Linked DNA regions of Homo sapiens: regions 1 and 2 are each linked to region 3. The links are contacts of gene promoters, found by promoter capture Hi-C in blood cells and fetal thymus (Javierre and others, 2016). All regions are on one chromosome and are shown on one strand. The core of a region is centred on a gene start or on the middle of the fragment in contact, and the rest is flanking DNA. Distances in the headings are between cores, read along the strand shown.

What was found. The method cuts DNA at HindIII sites, captures the fragments that hold promoters and counts their contacts. A CHiCAGO score of 5 or more calls a contact.
Region 1: a contact is called between a fragment that was not itself captured here and the fragment with the promoter of UPP1 in region 3, in 2 of 17 cell types (non-activated CD4 T cells and naive CD8 T cells). The highest score is 9.8, in non-activated CD4 T cells.
Region 2: a fragment that was not itself captured here is called in contact with the fragment with the promoter of UPP1 in region 3 in 1 of 17 cell types (non-activated CD4 T cells); the score reaches 5.6 in non-activated CD4 T cells.

What each region holds. Positions count from the first base shown.
Region 1 is chr7:55,567,735-55,571,463 of GRCh38, reverse strand. The region is part of intron 1 of VOPP1 (VOPP1 WW domain binding protein); the gene reads left to right. Among named protein-coding and RNA genes, the nearest start is that of VOPP1, 2.9 kb to the left of the region's middle. RefSeq lists silencers at 2,294-2,588, 2,736-2,785. The HindIII fragment of the contact is 5,325 bases long and covers 1-3,729 here.
Region 2 is chr7:42,931,644-42,935,414 of GRCh38, reverse strand. It overlaps MRPL32 (mitochondrial ribosomal protein L32), which reads right to left and starts at 3,039. Exons shown (of 3, transcript NM_031903.3): 1 at 2,899-3,039; 2 at 279-460. The coding sequence starts at 3,028. It overlaps PSMA2 (proteasome 20S subunit alpha 2), which reads left to right and starts at 3,241. Exons shown (of 8, transcript NM_002787.5): 1 at 3,241-3,297. The coding sequence starts at 3,257. RefSeq lists an enhancer at 2,861-3,090. The HindIII fragment of the contact is 641 bases long and covers 1,670-2,310 here.
Region 3 is chr7:48,087,757-48,091,361 of GRCh38, reverse strand. It overlaps UPP1 (uridine phosphorylase 1), which reads right to left and starts at 2,097. Exons shown (of 9, transcript NM_003364.4): 1 at 1,944-2,097; 2 at 998-1,174. RefSeq lists silencers at 1,533-1,722, 2,063-2,402 and enhancers at 1,503-2,032, 2,543-2,752, 2,565-3,094. The HindIII fragment of the contact is 3,480 bases long and covers 618-3,605 here.

The sequences.
Region 1 (3,729 bases), core at 111-2,610, 7.5 Mb before region 3:
ACTTTCTCCTTAGTTTCATTATTCTGAAGGAAATTTGCGTTAAATTAATGAAGTCAAAAGAAATAGGTAATGAATCCCATGCCTCTGTTTTAGGAAGTTGTGAAACTATCTTCCTTAATAGTTAGTGATTGGTGCTGGAAATTACTAGTTTGTCTTCGCCCTTTATTAAAAAGTAATTATTACAAAATGTTGGAGGAAAAGTGTTTCCTGAAAGGAAGGCTGGTGGACAAATTTCTCCTTGCTCCAGGCTCTGCCATAGCCGAGACTTCCTGTTTCTGTTCGGAAATATCCCCGTAGCTTGGTATTTAATGTTTTTGTGGAGTGCCTCTGCTTGCATTCTTTCCATTTATTCAGAATTTTAGAACCTTAGGAATCACATTCTCTGAGTGACTCACCATAGAGAACAAAGAAGTGAATCAGAGACCAGTAATCGCATGAAAACAGATGTGCTTGTACCTTAATGTGTGTACCTATACTTGCAATCTTTATTTTTTATTTTTATTTATTTATTTCTTTAGTTTTGAGATGGAGTCTCGTTCTGTGGCCCAGGCTTGAGTGCTGTGGCGCGATCTTGGCTCACTGCAATCTCCGCCTCCTGGGTTCAAGCTATTCTCCTGCTTCAGCCTCCCCAGTAGCGGGGACTACAGGCGCCCACCACTATGCCCGGCTAATTTTTGCATTTTTAGTAGAGTCGGGGTTTCGTCATGTTGGTCAGGCTGGTCTCGAACTCCTGACCTCAGGTGATCCGCCCGCCTCGGCCTCCCAAAGTGCTAGGATTACAAGGTGAGCCACCGCGCCCGGCCCTGCAATCTTTTTTAATCGGCACTTGATGAAATTATTTAGCGTTTCTTTCATTCTAGTTTGTGCCACCCATGTCTCCCAAGCCTTCTGTCTGAGTGGTTCTGTGCCCTATATGTAGCCTAGACGGCCTCAGTGACTCCATTCTTTCCAAAATAGCTGTTTCGTTGCATAGGAATGTATCCTCTTAATAGGAGTTCAGATCATGTCTGCAAAGTTGAAACGACCTTAAAGGCAGAAGTGTGATGTAAAACTGAAACCTAAATGCCTAAGATGATACTTTCACAGTCAAATATTAGATGATTGTTTCAGAGGGGACAGTGTGATGTCACCCACTTTGACATGATGATTATCCTAAGTACCACCACTTTGTGCTGGAGAGGCGTCTCTCTGAGGAGTTAAGGAGATTTCTTCATCATTTATCACATGAAATTTTATGTATGAGATTTATATTTGAGATTTTTTCATCTCTGGTGGGGTGCTCTGATGAATACCTGTGATGCTTCTGAAGTCCTGAATCACATACATGGATGTGCAGTCGTAGGTGTGGAGCATGTGCCATGGCAAATGGCTCTCTTCAGGTTGAGTGCATAAAAGCAACCCAGGGAGCTATTTGGTGGCTTCTGGCTTCTGACTGCCGGCTGCAACCTGGGAAATTTGTCTTTGTTCCTTTGTTCTGCCTGAGCTGGTTTCAGTGTATAAATTTGCCACGTGGTTGATCATAAACCACCTGAAATTAAGGGGTGGCCTTGTGGCAGTGGTGACTCTGTTCCCACCCCCAGCACCCTGGCCCTATCTAGCACCATCCAGAATCTCACATGCGCAGGGGTTTCTGTGTTAGTGAGAGGTCCTTGAGTAGGAAGGGCAATCCAAAGACTGTTTTGAGAAGTGCTTTCCTCCCCTGCCTCACCATCCCTTTGTAGAAATTTACTTACCTGTTAGACATAGAACTGCATATTTATGTTTGCTTACTAAACATTCATAGAGTGCTCCAGGGTAACTGCCAGGCACTGTTCTATAAATGTTACACGTTATCTCATTAATCCTGCTAGCAATTACTTTTATCTTCATTTTTGTTTCAAATGGGAAGTGAACACTTAACACTGCTGTTAAGTGTGAGGGCTTAAGATGCTAACCCAGGCAGTCTGGTTCCAGTGTGTACCCCACCTCGATGCTCTGCTTCCTCTGCCGTCTGCGCACACAGGAACATGTTAGGAATTTGCATGCTCTACATCGCGAGGGCAGTGGTGGCCCTGGAAAGTGTATTCCCCTTAGAAACTCAGTCACCCTTCCTTAGAAAGACCATGTGATTTAGCCTACAAACGGTGGCACTTTGAAGAGTGAAATAGGATGTTGTTAAGAGCTGTGCCTGGACAGTGGGCATCACCAGGACTCTCCTGAGAAACCCTGGTTGTGTTCCCCTCCTGAAGCCCAGGTAGGGCTTCAGGGAGGAACCGGCAGCAGCTGACAGCACCATCCCTCTCCTAGGGAGGCTTCTTGGAAGCTCATTACTGGACTGACCTTTCTTTTCTATTAACTCAGAGTTTCCTGTGAATTACATGCACAGCCAGTGAGGGCCCTGATTTTATCTCCCTCTCCCCTGTTGCTCTGTGCCAGCTGGTTATGATCCAGGGACCCAGGCCACGAATGTGGCAGATTCTAAGGGTGGCTAAGAGTAGGGAACCTCAGAGGCCTTTTTGGTTCATAAAATGCTAAGGTTCTATGCCTTTGTTCCGCCAGCTGGCTGAAGTGAGGTCCTGCAAACAATCCTTACAGGAAGAGTGAAAGTACTAAGCTGTCTCCTAGTAGCCCTGCTGAAGTTATTCTCAGTGGCCTTCACACAGTAACTCCTTAGAAACTAAAAGGAAAAAAAAAGGTTTTAAAACTGACTACACTTCAGTTGAATCCCGAGAGTAATGAGGCCCTAAGCATATGCACCTCCCTGGGGCTTTTTGTTGTGTGCATTGTTTTCTAGATATTGTCACTGCATTCTCTTTCTAGAGGTTTGGTTGGTTACACTTTTGAAATCTACTTAGTATTTGTTTGAAGGGCTCTGTTCTTACTGAAGTGAGCCCAGAAATGTATAGTATGCTATTTAGTGTAAAACTCACCAATACCAGTGCCTCTGCTTCCAAGGAGATAGACTTATTTTAGTTAAGGGACTACTCATTATCTTTCTGATCTTTCCCAGGAACCAAGAGCTGGAAACGCTTAAGCCACGTTGCTTTGTGCTTCAATGCTGTTGGGCAAAAGAACAGATCTTCTTGGACTAGAAAAAGGAACAGTTGTCAGGCTGGGTGCGGTGGCTCATGCCTGTAATCCCGGCACTTTGGGCGAGGCGGGTGGATCACGAGCTCAGGAGATCGAGACCATCCTGGCTAACACGGTGAAAGCCCATCTCTACTAAAAATACAAAAAATTAGCTGGGCGTGGTGGCGGGCGCCTGTAGTCCCAGCTACTCGGGAGGCTGAGCCTGGAGAATGGCGTGAACCCGGGAGGCGGAGCTTGCAGTGAGCGGAGATTGTGCCACTGCACTCCAGCCTGAGCAACAGAGTGAGACTGTCTCAAAAAAAAAAAAAAAAAAGGAATAGTTGTCTCTTAGAGAGGGTTGCAAAGTGGACATTATCTTTGAACTAGGGAAAAATAATAAGATCACTGAGTATTTTTCTGAAGTTCTGTGTATTTTGATGCCTGGGAGTCTGGAAATTAGAACTGAGTTATGTTTAAGAGTGTTTTTTGTCTCTTGCCAAATGTCTTTTGTGCCCTGGAATTCCAACAAATGTGGCAGTCCCTGGCTGCCAATTTCCTGAAATAAACCTTTCAGCCCACCCACTCTTAAGAGTTTTTAGAAACCAGGCAACATGCAATTTGAATGAAAAAGAATCCTGCAGGGAGTTTGCTGTCTCTGGAAACTCCACGGGAGGCCAGGTG
Region 2 (3,771 bases), core at 741-3,240, 5.2 Mb after region 3:
ACAATTCAGAAGTCATGTAGGCACCTCACAGCCTCGTTCCTTGCCCAGTCTCCAAACTCACTCCTTCCTTGACTGTGTTTCTAATACTCAGGCTAGAGGACAGCAGGCTCTAGCCTTCTCATTATGTATATAATGAGAATACTGTATTTCATTTAGGCCAGAGGAAAGTAGACACATATAATCTGATAATAATTTATTCCTAGGCTATAGGAATCTACCATGAGCTTATTCAATGGAGGACTTGAGGAAAAGCACACCCACAAAAATCAATGCATTACCTTAACTTTAATAAGCTTCTGCGGATTTCTTCTCCTACACCGGTTAACTTCAATGGTGCGTCTATTTTTGGGAGCTGCCATCCAAAAGATACTGTCCAAAAGGCTGGAATTCTCTTTACTTCCACTGGTATCATTTGCTGGCTCTGTAAACATGGCTGGGCCCTGTACTGCTAATGCTGGTCCTAGGAAATAAAACATAAGAGATACAGAATTAGTTTCTAGCTTCTAAATTACTATTTACAGATATCATTTTCCTTAACAATCAATGGTCAAACATACACACACACAAAAACTATATATAAAATTTAGAATGTGAAACTCAATAATGAGAAACCTTAGCTATTAAAATACACTAAAGCTTATACAATTTTAAGGAACACAGAATTTTTTCTTAGCGGATCCTGCTGAAAAGAAGATCAGTGAAATTCCATCAAGTTTCTTATCTCATAAAATACAGGACTCTGATAGGCACCTAACTTGAACAAAACAAGCAAAGAATCACTCAACTGTCCACATTCTATTAATACTTGGCGGGTAGTAAGTACCTGATTAATTTACAAGTAAATCTAGACAGATTTCCTGAATACACTTCTGACCGGCACTGATGTAACTGCCAATTGCCTTTTCTTATATTCAAACTGAGTCAGGTCCTTTATGATACAACCTCTTAAGTCACTTAGTTCCTCATAACATTTAATCTTGATTCCTGTCTGCTCTCTAAAGAAAAGAGCCAGCTCACCATTTCTCTGTATGGCCTTATTTATGTGACTATCAAAGTTTCTCTTTTTCTGAATTGCTTATAAAATCAACATTCCTTTACCCTTTCCTTGCTATTTCTTAGACGTGCCATACTTTTTTTTTTTTTTTTTGAGACTGAGTCTCACTCTGTCACTCAGGCTAGAGTGCAGTGGCGTGACCTCGGCTCACTGCAACCTCCGCCTCCCTGGTTCAAGTGATTCTCCTGCCTCAGCCTCCCAAGTAGCTGGGATTACAGGTGTGCACCACCACGCCTGGTTAATTTTGTATTTTTAGTAGAGACAGGGTTTCACAATGTTGGCCAGGCTGGTCTTGAACTCCTGACCTTAGGTGATGGACCCACCTTGGCCTCCCAAAGTGCTGAGATTACAGGTGTGAGCCACCGCGCCCAGCCCACATACTTCTTTTGATCTTAAGAACTCTTAAAAATACACAAAGTTCTCTAACACTTAACAACTGGCATTTATTTTCAGTATGTCCACAAGTATTGCCAAGCATGCCCCGGTGATTAACAACACAGGCTCAGGACTGTCTGTGAACTTGGGACCATTGTGAGCCTACTGTTTCAGTTGGAAAGTGTATACACCTAATGGGACTGTTGTCAAGATTATCCCAGGAAGTACATGTAGAAAGCTTGGCACATTGCTTGGCATATAGTGGCATATATTTTCTTGGTATATTTCTGGATATTATCACTTTCAGGCTGCTTAGAAATTGAGTAGAATGTAAATGCCAAAGCCATGACAGTTTCAACATCCAAGATACTTCCAATTAAAATTAATTCCAAGTGAAACATGGGAAACAGAATTCAGCTCCTCAGAGCTCAAACACCACAGAAAACATGTACTGCGCGGGAGGGAGGGAGGAAGGGAGGAAAGAAGGGAGGGAAGGGAAGGGAAGAGGAGAGGGGGGAGAGGGGAAGCGGGAGGGGAGGTGAGGGCAGGGCTGGAAAGGAAAGACAGATCCAGAGAGTGGTGAGCCTTGATGCCAAGTGAGACCTGCAGAACTGTCCTCTCAGGACAACTCTGTACAAATCCCTGAACTCCACAGACTTGACCAAACTCTAGCATAGTTTCTAGCAGCATAAGGCTGTATCCTAGGATGACCTCGGCCCCCCCTTTAAAGTGCCTGCCTGAGAAAGCTCAACGCTGCCTGGAAAATTTCCTATTTATTTTGGCCAACATACCCCGATAGTAGGTCCCGAACTCCCTTAGAGCATTTCCTGGAAAGGGCATATAATTGTAAATACGTATCCCTTGCAACTAACTCGGAAGCTTTTCTTTCAAGGCCCTGAGAGCCATTCCTTCGAAATCTAATCATTAGGAAGGATAGGGCCTTTGTCTCCCAGTCTCTGCGGGAGGATAGAATTCTCCCTAAGACAACTGCGAGCTAGCAGACACAGCCGGCTAATCACATTTGCACTGACTTCACTATACTACACTTCTCTGACTCTACAGAGCCCCTACACTCCCGCCTCGCTCATTCTCCCTTTAAAACGCCCAAAGTCACCTCTGCACAAACCGGGATGGAGCTCAGCTCTTTACCTGCAGTAGTTACTGAATAAAATCTGTTTTCAGCGCTTTACTTACTGGCTGGCTATGATTTATCTTTGACACAAGCTTGGGTTACATTCTGTGTACGAATGGAACAAGCAGAGGAATTTTTTTTTTTTTTTTTTTGCGGTGGAGGGAGCGCAAAAACAGTCGTTCTGTTCTCGCTAATATGGGAATGTCACGAACTACGTCCCCGACATGAGGCCGCGGATCAGAACCGGGGCTGAGGGCGAACTGTGTAAGCTGCGTCTGCTACGCTGCCCGAGGTCCCGTCATCAGCCCCCTCTCCCACGGAGCCCTTCTTTACCTACCCCACGGAGGACTGGGAAAGCCCGGCCGGCTCTGCGGAAGCTTCCGTAGCAGTCGCTCCCAGTAGTTTCGAAGCACTCCCCGGGCCGCAGACCACGGCGAAACCACCAAGACCAGCATGGCCAGCGCCATTTTCCCTGCTGGAAGACCGCCCCGGTCCCGCCCCTGCTTTCAGCATGCGCACAGGCACAGAATCGGGCAAGCCTCGCTTCTTAGAACTACAACACCCCGCATGCTCTTGGAGCAGCTCTGACTCTCCTCCAATCATAGAGAGTAAAGGAAAGGTGAGGGGCGGGGAAATGAAAGGAAATCGGCCACAGTGCGCATGTGTGCGGCTGTGCTTTGGCTCTTCGGGTAAAGATGGCGGAGCGCGGGTACAGCTTTTCGCTGACTACATTCAGGTATGGAAGGGGCCCTCGAGGTCTTCAGCGTAGTCGAGGTTGCTGGTACTCTGTCGATTTAGTTTTTCCCATCCTGACGTCGGCATTGGTGCTTCTGGAGGGTCCAGTAGGGAATGGAGTTGGAAATGCGGCTTTGCAAAGTCATTTGCCAGGCCGACCCGGGATTCCTGGAGCTTCCTTGGTCGGAGGCTGCTGGAGGGTCGGGGGGATGCGGTTTTGCGGGGTTAACATGGGGCTGCGGGACGGTGAGGCACATAGCCAAGGATTCGCTTTCACTTTGGAGACCAGAAAAGAAGGCAGTTTTAGCTTAACCATCTCTGGGTGGCCCGTTCCGAACTCAGGATTTTTTTCCTGGCTCAAGTAGACCTGATGCGGTGGTTTCTGAAACTTGGAATCTTGGTCAAATATGTGGGGTTCCCTTTTCTTGGAAAACTCTCAGCTTTACAGTTAAGTCGGAGTCTTGGTCTCCATTTG
Region 3 (3,605 bases), core at 848-3,347:
GTCTTTTCGGTGATCACCTGGGGCTCTCTACCTATTACCAGCCAGATCCATCTTACTTAAAAAAAAAAAAAAACTGAAGATGTTTTTGATTTTTTTTTTTAGTTTTAACCCGTTAAACTCAAATCAGATTGGTAAGTTACTTGCATAAATAACTTAGCTTGTAAACATTTAAAATACTTTTTTGAATGAACATATTTCAAAAGCAAATGTGTGTGAGAGAGAGAGGAGAAGGAAGAAGAATGTTTGTTGTTTATCTTTAGGGAAGAGGAAAACCTAGAAGTTTCATTTTCTGTTATATATTTGATTTTTGGTTTTTGGGTTTTTTTGTTTGTTTGTTTTTACAATAAGTTTGCGTTAATTTTAAGATCAGTAAAGTCAACAAAATTCCACTTTGACAAAAAGCCCATGTAAAGAAACACTAATTTATCCTTCTTAAATGAAACATGAATGCCCACCAGTGCTGAAAGTATTGGAACCAAGAATATAATTTGTGCTCGATACACCTGTGCTGAATTAAAACGGTCTGCGGTGATGAGGTTTAATGCAGAGGACTAGAAGGTCAGGGTAGCCTCTGAAAAAAGAAATAATGTAAGAGCAGCTGAGAAATGGGGAAAGCTTGGGCCAAAATGCAGATGGGCAAACAAACTGAAAGGCGGGAGAGACAAAGGCCTGCCCTGGGAATGGCTCAGCAGCGCTTGTAGAAATCCAGAGTAAGACATTCTTTCTATTCAAGGAAGTCACAAAGTTTTTTAAAGACCCGCGGTTACAGCCAATGAATGGAACCAATGGTCTTTTTAACCAGAAGACCCCAGGAAGGCAGAAAATGAGCCAAAGAAAGGCCAGGCAGGGGACAGTGGGGAAAGGAAACAGGGATGGAGAAGCAGAGAGGGAAGTGCAGAGACAGGTCACCCAGGCGCCTGGAAACTGCCTCTATGGCCTTCACGGGAAACGGCCTCTTTCTACTCCGGATCCCAGACTGTGTTTCTTTGAAACTGACCGTCAGAGGAGAGCGGCTGGAGGCGGACAGACGTCTGCAGTGGGAGGCGCTCCAGGCGTTCCAGGCAGTGTCCTGCCGGCGAGTCACCCGCGACCGCGAGTCACCTCACCAAGCCCTGAATTGGGACAGGAGACGAGACGTGTCGACGAGCTGCGGAGTTCCTCGCTTCTCTGGGCCCTGCCAGGTCCAAGAACAGGTTGCCATATAAAAGAATCGTGAAGGGACCCCCTTCCCCATGCAAATTATGTCATATAACGCATATGCCTGTGAAGTTTCTCTGCGGAGCTGCCAGATAACTCGATGACAATATTTTATGCGGTAACATTTTGTTAAATGTTGACTCGATGGCCACTTGACGCCATCTGAACTCTGAAAGCTCGCGTAACAATCATCCTCCAAATGAAATTTTACCCCCTTCTCCCTTTAAAAGGCGGTGGGGACAAAACATCACTTCGTCACTTAAGTCACCATCTCCTTCCTCTTATCTGGGGCTCCCAGCATAGTTCTAGGGGTTCCCGCACTCCCCGCCCGGGTTTGGGCTGCGAGAAGCGCCCGCCTGCGCCCTGCGGGACCTGACCCTGCCGGCTCTGGCTTCACCCTCGCTGCGCCTCGGCCCGGTGGGCTCCCCGCCCAGAGCCCCGCGCGCTCCGTCGCCGGGACGTGGGAGAGGTAGGCACGGGGTGGACCCGAGGAAGCACATCCCGCCCGCGCGCTTCCCCCACGCCCACCTCGCTCCGCACACACCAGCCCCAGAACCTCCCGGCCGCGCGCCCGCCTCCCCGCGCAGCCGCGCCGGGCCGCTCTCTGCTCCTCTGCAGCTCACAGCCAAGGTGCACCAGAGCCTCCGTCACCGCCCCTACAGGTAAATGGGCACGTGGCCAAGGCAGGGGACGGGCTAGACCCCTGGGAAGAGAGAACGGCGGGAGCCGGGCCGCGGGCGACTCACCACTCGGCCTGCGCAGAGAGCCGCTACACCCGCGGCGCCATCCTCGCACTGCGACACCGGCGACAAACGCAATGCTCCAGGGCCGGACGAAGGGACGGCTCTCGGGAGGCTCGCAGACGGCGGGGCGCGGGTCTGTGCGCCGGAGCACTCGAATGAGGGAACCACCTGCGAGGTGAATCTCATATGGAGTCTGCGAGCGGCCCCGCCCTGCCCGGGGGTTACCGCTAGGCTCGGGCCCCGCCTGCCCTGGGCCGGCGAACTCAGCTGACCGCATCCTGGGCCATCCCGCAGACAAGCCCCGCCCGCCCCCACCTTCCTCTGCCCCTCTGGCCCCGCCTCCCCCGCCTTCCTCCTCTCCACCCTCCCGCGAAGGTCCCGGGAGGCTCAGCCCGCAATTGCTTCTCGCCTCTGCAGAGCAGCTGGGCAATTGTAAAGAACCAGCAGCCAGTTCTGTTACTCATTAAACAGCCCCTACTACAGAGGAAATCTTCTTACCCACGTGGTCCTAACCTGGGGCGGAGGAAACCGGGCTAGAAGCGGCTCTAGGACTAACCCAAGGTCACGCCGCCAGGCAGGATCCCCGGTCTGTCTGTCTGGCGGTGGCCCCGCGGCTGGGGCCAGCGGAGAGAAATGACAGCGTGGAACCAGCCCTGGCCCGGTGGTCGGGAATGTGGAGCTGGCACTGTCACTGTGTGTACCCTGGATCTCTCTGGACGGCCTCGGCTTCCCCCCTGGGGAGTTTCTCTGGGACCTTCCTGATCCTGGGAGTTCCCGCTTGCTGGGGCAAAGCCAGGAGCTCGCCCGAGGAGGGGAAGTGACTCATTCACTTCGAGTCGCAGCTAAGTGGCCGAACTGCCTCAAACCGGCGCTGCACTCTGACCCCCAGGGGCCGGACCTGCCTGCCCCCGGCCGGTGCCCACTCTCCGTCTCAGGCGTCTTTCCTGGTCCTCTCCCTGCTTCCCGAACGCGCACTCTGGTGAGAGCACAGAGCCTGGGAAAGAAGACGACCTAGAGGCCCGGGCAGCCCAGCACCTCTGTTACTTGCTTCCTAAAGGGAACTCCAGTTCCTGAGAAAACATGGGGTTGGGCCGGGAGTGGTGGCTCACGCCTGTAATCCCAGCACTTTGGAAGGCCGAGGCGGATGGATCACCTGAGGTCAGGAGTTCGAGACCAGCCTGCCCAACATGGTGAAACCCCGTCACTACTAAAAATACAAAAAATTAGCTGGACGTGGTGTCGCGTGCCTGTAATCCCAGGTACTAGGCAGGCCGAGGCAGGAGAATTGCTTGAACCCAGCGAAGGATGCAGTGAGCCGAGATCGCGCCATTGCACTCCATACTGGGTGACAAGAGTGAAACACACAAACAAATCAAGGAAGGAATTAAGGGTTTTATTGAAAATGAAAGTACGGCCAGGCGCAGTGGCTCACACCTGTAATCCCAGCACTTTGGGAGGCCGAGGCGGGTGGATTACAAAGTCAGGAGTTCAAGACCAGCCTAACCAAGATGGTGAAACCCCGTCTCTACTAAAAGTAAAAAAAAAAAAAAAACAAAAAAAAAAACCTAGCCGGTCACAGTGGCAGGTGCCTGTAATTCCAGCTACTTGGGAGGCTGAGGCAGGAGAACCACTTGAACCTGGGTGGCAGAGGTTGCAGTGAGCTGA